Linked DNA regions of Homo sapiens: region 2 is linked to region 1. Evidence: promoter capture Hi-C in 16 types of primary human blood cells and fetal thymus (Javierre and others, 2016). All regions are on one chromosome and are shown on one strand. Each heading gives the region's core, a stretch centred on a gene start or on the middle of the fragment in contact. The rest is flanking DNA. Distances are from core to core; before and after follow the strand shown. Region 1 holds the start of MED4-AS1 (MED4 antisense RNA 1). Region 2 has its middle 110 kb from the start of CYSLTR2.

The links. Contacts are between HindIII fragments. The CHiCAGO score rates a contact against its expected background, and 5 or more counts as called.
Region 2: a fragment that was not itself captured here is called in contact with the fragment with the promoter of MED4-AS1 in region 1 in 3 of 17 cell types (total B cells, fetal thymus and naive B cells); the score reaches 7.0 in total B cells.

What each region holds. Positions count from the first base shown.
Region 1 is chr13:48,074,523-48,079,039 of GRCh38, reverse strand. It overlaps MED4-AS1 (MED4 antisense RNA 1), which reads right to left and starts at 1,903. Exons shown (of 3, transcript NR_046511.1): 1 at 1,689-1,903; 2 at 1,487-1,598. It overlaps MED4 (mediator complex subunit 4), which reads left to right. Exons shown (of 7, transcript NM_014166.4): 7 at 1,729-3,316. The coding sequence ends at 1,901. The HindIII fragment of the contact is 10,244 bases long and covers 1-4,517 here.
Region 2 is chr13:48,760,785-48,765,301 of GRCh38, reverse strand. No RefSeq gene overlaps it. Among named protein-coding and RNA genes, the nearest start is that of CYSLTR2, 110 kb to the right of the region's middle. The HindIII fragment of the contact is 413 bases long and covers 2,041-2,453 here.

The DNA.
Region 1 (4,517 bases), core at 654-3,153:
ATAGTTTGTAGGTGACTTTTGTTTTGATGTGGTAGAACATTTGGGAAGTAGAAAAAGGCATTTAAAAAAGGAAAAAAATATACCCTTTCTGAGGCAGTCACTTTAAATATTTTAGCCTGTTTCCTTTTTTCCCCTATACATTTTTTGCTTAATGTTACATCATAAGGCTGTCCCTGTGTCATTAATAATGCTTTGTATGCATCATTTTTGTTAGCTACCTAAAGTACAACCAGGGGAACTCAACTGTGATATCCTTGGATATCACCTCATATTTCTCATGTTTTAAAAGTACAGGAAAAACAGATATGGGGAGTCACTGCCACATTTTGGACCAAGGAAGGGACAGACCTAAAAACAGTCTTCCCCAGCTCCATCCCAAGGCCGATACTCTCATATCATGGTGCTGTCATTGGAGAGGGTGCAGTGTAATGTGGCCCACTCCATGGCAGAGAAGTTAGATGAGGCATCAGAGGCCAGAGCTGGCAAGCAGGAAATTACCCACTGGGGTTCCAGGGAGACTTGCTGGGAAGCTGCCCTTTGGGATTCTGGTGAAACCTGCTAGGAAACCACCTTTAGAGGCGCCACCGAAAGTTGCTGTGGTGAACACCACTTAATGTCCTGCACACCAACCAGGCATCACAGCAGTAAAGGAGACAAAACCACCTGATCCAGGAAGTGAAACTTGTTTGCTAGTGGAGTCCCACCTGTGCCCTCTACTGACAAAACTTAATTGTGGCAGCTGGCAAAGGAGAAATGGTTTCAGGGGCCAGAGAGAAGGGTAGATTTGAGGCTAACTGGCATACCTTTCTAGTTAATACCATAACTCTTTCTTTTGACCCTTTAAAAATCTGCCTTCTTTATTTGAGTCTTGAACTATACCTGTTTATGTGCTCTGTCCCTTTGCTTCAGAAATACAGACTTTAAATGTAACTTGGGCCCTTTTTTAAGGTATTTCATATGCATACATTGCTAATCAACCTCTCTTTGATGAGAGTCACTTACAATAGCAGTTCCTCTATCAAGAAATCATTCAAATCTATTATAATACTAAAGTACCTATTACTTGTTTATAATATGTAGAATAATCTACATAACCTAGTATACATAAGTATGTATTATATATGCATATAATAGATACATAGATACAGGAAAAATTTGTAATTACAAATGTCTTACAAAAGAAAAATTATGTCAACTGACTAAATAGTTTCTTACAGAGTAGTATGATTTTTTTAAAAAAGTCCCCAGTTGCTAAAATATCAACTTTTCCTTGATAAATTTGATTTTTATTAATTTGGCTAAATGTGTATTTTTTTCCTAGTCTTAAAAAAATTGGCACAATAGCTTATGCCTGTAATCCCAACACTTTGGGAGGCTGAGGTAGCAGGATAGCTTGAGCCCAGGAGTTGGAGACCAGCCTGGTTAACATAGTGAGACCTCATCTCTACAAAAACTTTAAAAAGTACTCAAGCATGGTGGCACATACCTGTAACCCAGTTACTCAGGAGGCTGAGGCAGGAGGATTGCTTGAGCCTAGGTCAGGGCTTCAGTGATGTATTCGTGCCACTGCACTCAAGCCTGGGTGACAGAATGAGACCCTGTGTCAAAAAAAGAAGAGAAAAAAGTAAAATTAAAAAAAATACTTCAAATTGTTGCATAAAGGGAAAAGTAAGAACTAGATTAATTACAGATAGAGCTGTTCTTATCTATGCTTCTTTTTTTCTCCAGATGTCCTTGCTCCACAGTATCCATGGCAGTCAAATGACATGTCGATGAATATGTTACCACCAAATCATAGTAGTGACTTTTTGTTGGAACCTCCTGGGCATAATAAAGAAAATGAAGATGATGTAGAGATTATGTCAACGGACTCCTCAAGCAGTAGTAGTGAGTCTGATTGAAAAACCTTAAAAGACAATATACAGAATTGAATACTGTAGAATTCTGTTTCTTTAACAGTAGCAGGGAAATGTAAACTACAGGTGACAAAAAATACCCAGGTAAACACTGGCTTTGGTAGAATTGTGCAGTCATTAAAAGTCAAAATTTTTTGACTTTCTTTTTAAAGCCAAAGACCATAGTTTTAGTTTTAAGCCACTAGGTAGATATTTAGGGGAATAGTCAAAATTTACTGTTGAAAAAGCAGTTGCTATGTGCTTTCTTACCCTGTTCTGTTCCAGTTTTGCTGGATTTGTACATAGCCATTCTAGAAATAGAGTTGAGGGAAATTATCCATATACATATCACTAATAGGCTTCTTGGAATTATTTAGAAAAGCATTTTTAAACTGGCAGTGGATGACTGAATAGGCATCATATTTCTTTTTGTGTGTCATTTAAAAGTAACAAAAACTGCCATTTGACAGTAAAGGCTCTTGGCTTCTGTTGGAGGCATGGGAAATTGTCTCAATTTGTACAGTTTGTAATTGTAATTTTTGTAAATAAATTTGTTTGTACATTGTATGCTTTTTTTTTAGTTTAAATATACTGTCAGTGTAGGTAGGAAATTATTTCTGTAAATCCAGTTGCATTTTATAATACTTGAGTGACTAACTGAATTGAAACCTATTACAATTAATAGGGTTCTCAAAGGCCTATTCCTATTAGAAGAAATAATTTTTTTTAATAATTGAAAAAATTTACCACAGCCTTGTCTGATTTTAAGAATAGATTGTGTGAAGATTTAGAATGGAAAGCAACCATTTCTTCCCTTCACCTTCCTCTTCTTACAGTTCCCCAGGAGTCATTTTTAACCACTTTTAATTTCTGTTGGTAACCTCTGTGTTTAGGTAATATGCTTATACAACTATTTCTTGATGTATCAGTTTTAGACAATGTATCTTCTGATTTCAAAGGTAATACAACATTTAATGTGAAACATTTAGTGAATACAGTAAAGGAGAAAATAAAATTGTTAGCATTCTACCCAGAGATAATATCAATTCATATTGTAGTGTAGATTTTTTTAAAGTTCACATACACTTTTTTGTAAAATGAGAATAATGTTTATTTCCTGAGATACTGCTGTATTTTTTAATTGCTAATCTGTATTCTTCAAATGAACTGAGAATTCCATTTTTCCATCATTTTTTCCTTTTGATTATTTTCGATCTCTAGAAAAATTGGAAAATAGGAGATTAATCTTATATTTTCACCATCTAGAATTAAGGACATACAATGTTTGAATGTCTTTCCCTCCAGGGTTATTTTTAGGAATGGACTAACACAATATCTAATTTTAACCTTGCCTTGTCCGTATACTAGGAATATTGATCCATGTGTATACATTCTTGAAAGATTTACTTTAATGGCTAAAATTTTATTGTGGTATGTGCCATAATGTAACTGCCTGTTTTTATCACCAAATCTTTAGGGTAGATTCAAAAGGATTGTGTTTTTCAAATTCTTTAATACTGTATTAGTTTTCAGTTGCTGCCGTAACAAATTACCACAAACTTGGCTCAAAACAACACAAATTTATCTTAGTTTTGTACATCACAAATGTGAAGTGGGTCTCACCTAAAATCAAGGTGTGAGCAGGGCTGCATTCCTTCCTGGAGGCCATAGGGGAGAATCTGTCCCCTGTGTCTTCCAGGTTTTAGAGGCCGCCCTTGGTCCTGCTCCAGGCCCCTGGTTGGTGAGTGTTTCTCATTCTGCATTACTGTGATGCTCTTCTGCCTACCTGTCCCATATTTAAAGGATCCTGTGATCATTCTGAGCCCACTGGATAACCCAGAATAATCTTCTTATTTAAAGTGAGATGATTAGCAACCTTTATTCTGTTTGCAACCTTAATTCTTCCTTGCCATGTAACAAAACAACATTCATAGGTTCTGTAGATTGGGATTTAGACATCTTTGGGGAAAGGGGGTCATTATCCAGCCTATCAGAAATAATCCAAACTTTTCCCCTGAAAATTACACAAATATACATTCTATCAGTACTAAGTCAATATCATAAGTCTATATATTTCTGAATTTTTTTTTTTTTGGAGACGGAGTCTTGCTCTGTCACCCAGCCTGGAGTGCAGTGGCTCTATCTCGGCTCACTGCAAGCTCCACCTCCTGGGTTCACGCCATTCTCCTGCCTTAGCCTCCTGAGTAGCTGGGACTACAGGTGCCCACCACCACGCCTGGCTAATTTTTTTGTATTTTTAGTAGAGACGGGGTTTCACCATGTTAGCCAGGATGGTCTTGATCTCCTGACCTCGTGATCCACCCTCCTCAGCCTCCCAAAGTGTTGGGATTACAGGTGTGAGCCACTGCGCCCAGCCTGAAAAATTTTTTTAAAGGTTTTTGTGTGTGTCCCAGTAGATGCCCTTAAAATAACTGCCTCTGGAAATGATGTCTATAAAAGGTCATAAACTCAAATTTATCTTCAGAGACGAGGCCACTCACACAAATGTAAGGAGTTGGCTAGATATTACTTAACAGGGAGTGGTAGAAATTTTGGCCAAAACTAGAGTGTATGCCCAGGCTTTTAAAATTAGATTATATAAACTGTGGGACAAATCTAGCC
Region 2 (4,517 bases), core at 998-3,497, 690 kb before region 1:
AAATCCTCAAAGAAATACCGGTAAACTGAATTCAACAGCACATTAAAAGGGTCATGCACCATGACTAAGTGGCACTTATACCTGGAATGCAAGGATGGTTCACCATATAAAAATCAATCAATGAAATATACCACATTAACAAATTGAAGGACAAAATCACATTATCATCTCAATCAATTCAGAAAAAGCATTTGACAAAATTCAATGCCCTTTTATGATAATAACACTGAACAAACTAGGAAGAGAAGAAAACTACCTTCAATATATATAATAAACAATATAATAAAATCCATATATGAAAAGCCCACAGCTAACATTATACTCCCATCCAAGTACTAACCAGGCCCGACCTTTCTTAGCTTCTGAGATCAGATGAGGTCAGGCATGTTCAGGGTGGTATGGCTGTAGACCATCATACTCAATAGGAAAAGACTGAAGGCTTTTCATCTAAGATAAAGAATAAGACAAGGATACCCACTCTCACCATTACTATTCAACATAATACTGGGAGTTCTAGTCAGAGCAATTAGACAAAAATTAAATTAAACTGAAGGCATACAAATTGGAAGGAAGAAGTCACATGATCTATTCACAGATGATATAATTTTATCTGTAGAAATCCCAAAAGATTCCACCAAAAAACTGCTAGGGCTAATAAACGATTTCAAGAAAGTGGCAGGATACAAAGCTGATGCACAAAAATCAGTTGCATTTCTAGATACATTTTTAAATAACTTAAATGAATTATGAAAACAATTCACTTATAATAGCACCAAATAGATGCTTCTTTCATGGGGCTGTCTTTCAACAGGTTAGATAGAGGAGTAGCACCCTGGGGAGGATAACAGAAATGTCAGAGTTCATAAAAGTTCAAGATCTTTTGCATGGCTTCTTTCTCTTGTGTGCTTATACCATTGCAGTTTCAGATTATAGTTGACTTCATAGAGAAAGAAGTTATATAAAAATCCATGTGATTCACAATTCTATCATTTTCCTTTAACCTGATTTTATTTGGAAATTTGGCCAAAGTATTTATTGCCTGAATTATTATTGTGTGTATTGAGAGCTCAGCATGCAGCCCAACCCTTTTCTATGATAGCAAGGGGAGGGTAGAAAGCTAAAACTGACATTTCCAGACTTCCTTGTAGTTAGGCTTCTGGATATGGGTTAGAGTCTGCCAATCAGATATGCTCATGGTAGAATGAGGTTTGAAACTGAACCAGGAAGAAGAGAGGGAGAAAAGGAGGAAGGAAGCATTCATTTTGCATTACAAATAAGGCTCAAATTCCCTTTGCCCACTCCCTGCAATCCTGGTCCATTTCCTACCCCAACAATGAAGGTAACCACTGCTATTAGATTGGTCTGTATCCTTCCATTCTCTTTCCATCAATTTTGCAAATATACATATATGCATATATGCTAATGTTTTAAGATGTGGATTTTGTGTAGTATTTTATTGTATCATACTACCATCTGCTACCTCTACAGCAACATTATGTCTTTGAGAACTTGACAGGTATGCATTATTCCATAGCATGGATACAGTATCACTTTTTAAAGTGATTTTCCTTTGGAAGGACATAAACCTAAAAATTGTTTCCAGTTTTCTGCTATCACAAACAATTTTGTACACATGTGCAAGAATTTTTCTTGAGCTAACACTAAGAAGTAGAATTTTTGAGTTGTAGGGTATGCACATTTAAATTTTCATAGATGCTGACAATGTATTTTAAAAGGGCTGTCACAGTTAACACCCCCACTATTTTTACTGTCTTTTGGTGTTAGTAGAGAAGCTTAAATTTTGGTGTCAGTCTAAGACTGCAAGAGTCATTTACAAGCAGTGGGACTAAGAGAAGTCATTTAACCTCCCTAAACCCCTGCTTCTTTATACTCAAAATGAGGATAAGTGTCTATGTCATGGAGTTCTTGCAGGGAATCGAGCTGAGGCCAGTAATACTTAGCACAGTCCCTGGCATATAGTAAGTGCTGATGAAAGGTGACTCCTACTCCTCCTCACCTTCCTTCTCTAAGATCTAAGCTTATCTATAAATGGGGCTATTCTATTATAATCTTTGCTAGGTTGAGATCACTTTGTTATTATTACTGTAGGATGTTTCTCCTTTTGAGAGGTACTGACACATCCTGGGCTGCATTTCTAAACTGGTCCTCTGAAAGAAACTTACCATGACATGGATTCCTATGTAATGAAACCACTTAATACTTTTAATTTAATGATGACACTGAATATGTGCATGGGCCATACTCAAATTTTTCCTGAAAGAACCACTTCCCTGTGCACTTAAGGATACTTACACTCTTCAAAAGTTTTGCATATGAGAGACTAAAATTAAGTTAATATCTTCAGAATGGCAATTTCCAAATGAAGTGATTTGTGCTCGTTAGCATGTTCTATTTAAGGCAAATGAATATATTGTTCTTTTTTACAGGAAGCTTTTAAGGTAACTCAGCTTACCGTGGAGTGGAGAGAGAATGTGATTGGGAGTCAAAGAGATCCAGGTTTGACTTTCAGCCCTGTCTCTTATTACCTAAGGGTCTTATTAAGATCCTTACTACTTCTGAGTCCCAATAATCATATTTATATTTATCTTGGAAGGTTGTTGAGAAGATTTAATGAGATAATATGTGCAAGTGCTGGACACATGGGGCATCCTTAAGAAATGCTGATTCCTGTCTATCCCCCCAGTGTTATTTACATAGGCTTCTGAATTCACCATCTATTGATTGAGTACAAGCTATGTGTCATCAGGAACTTCTATAGGCTGTGAGAGAGGGACAAATAAGAGAGACAGTCTCACCTTAAGGGGTTTTTAGTCTAGTGAGAAAGCTAGGCCATGGCTAAGTGACCTCAAGAGAACAATAAACACAATAACATTATGTCCAGGGCTCTCATCTCCCGATATGAGAAGTCAGAGGAACCTTCACAGAAGTATCTCTTGAGCTGGACCTTGAAGGATGAGGATGAGTTCACCAGGCAGGGAAGAAGAGCAGGTGGAAAAGCAAAGATAGAAAGAGCTGGGAGTGTTCTAACACTGGTGAGCATTAATCTTTCATCTCTAAAATATTTGGCCCGACATTCTTACAGTCTCTCCTGTGGCTGACATCTCCTGTGGTTCAAATGGACATTGGACTCACTAAAGAAGGGCACTGGACTCACTAAAGAAATCAAGAATTATTAATGTTCATTGCAGACTGGAACTTGGAACGCTGTAAATAACCCCAGCTCTACAAATCTGTCTGGAAAATGCTTAGTTCATGTTTGCTCTTTGTTACTTTTTCAAGGGAGTACTGAGGAAATCACAATTGTGGTTTCTGGCTGGAAATAGGTCCTATCTGTCACTATTGATCCTAAACAATTTGTCTCTCTGGAATCAGATTAAAATAGGTCCTATCTGTCACTATTGACCCTAAACGATTTGTCTCTCCGGAATCAGATTATTTAACCTCATTTCTAAAAGTTGTACTCAGGTGCTGGGTTAGGTGGATACTGCTAATAACAGCAGATGATCAATGATTCTTCCAGCAAACAGAGGAGTAAGTCACCTAGTGGGCAGAAAAGCCTGTTCCTCTGTGCCCATTTAATAAAAAAAATTATCCAGAGCACAAATTAATTTGTCATTAAAAGTGGCCATTCTCAGATATAGTTCTTACATCTTTTGTACTATTTTATAAACTATAGGCATCTGCCAGCAGCTGCTGGAACAGGAAAGTTTATATCCAGGCAGAGGGAAAAAAACATGGTAGAAAATGAGCAGGCTGAAACCAATATGAAGAAATGCCAGAAGAAAAAATGCACAATCAACTTTTGTCGTGTATTTTAAAATAAACTCTCTGGTCCAGTTGTAGCCGAGAATGACTCATCCCATCCACAGAAGCACCAAAGGGAATGGGGCAGGAAGGATGAACAGAAACAAGATTCTGTTTTACATAATTCTTATTTTCATGCAAAAAGGTATTCAAATAGCACATGAAATTGGCCAGTAATGTACCTCACTATTTACCTCACTATTTACAATGTCAGACAAAATGCAGGAGAGTTTGCTAGATAAGAATTATGACAGCCAGTCAATTAAAAGACTGTCATAGATCATATCCTACCATCCAGAACACCACAGTGTAAGGTTCTTGTATCGGTTTGAACCCCAAGAGCACGCCAAAAGATAACACGAGGCGGTGTGGGGTAACATGCTGTTTTAATGAGCGCCTGGGTGCAGGGGGGCTGACTAGGCCTCAGCCCCAAGTGAGGACAGGGCAAAGGCTTTAGAGTCTCCTGTAAACAGGAAGTGTCCTAGTCTGAAGTAACTGCTACGTTGTACCCGGATGGCCTCTTTTTCGATCTTCAGGTGTACGTGTCTTTCCACCTGGGTAAGTGTCTTCCAGCGGCTCTTTTCCTGCTTCTGCTATCTTGCTGGGGCACGCTACTGGCAAAAGTAGCCTTGCGGCTTGGGACTGGGCCTGAGAAAGGAGGAGTTATTTATCTCTTTAAGCTTTCAGGCTCC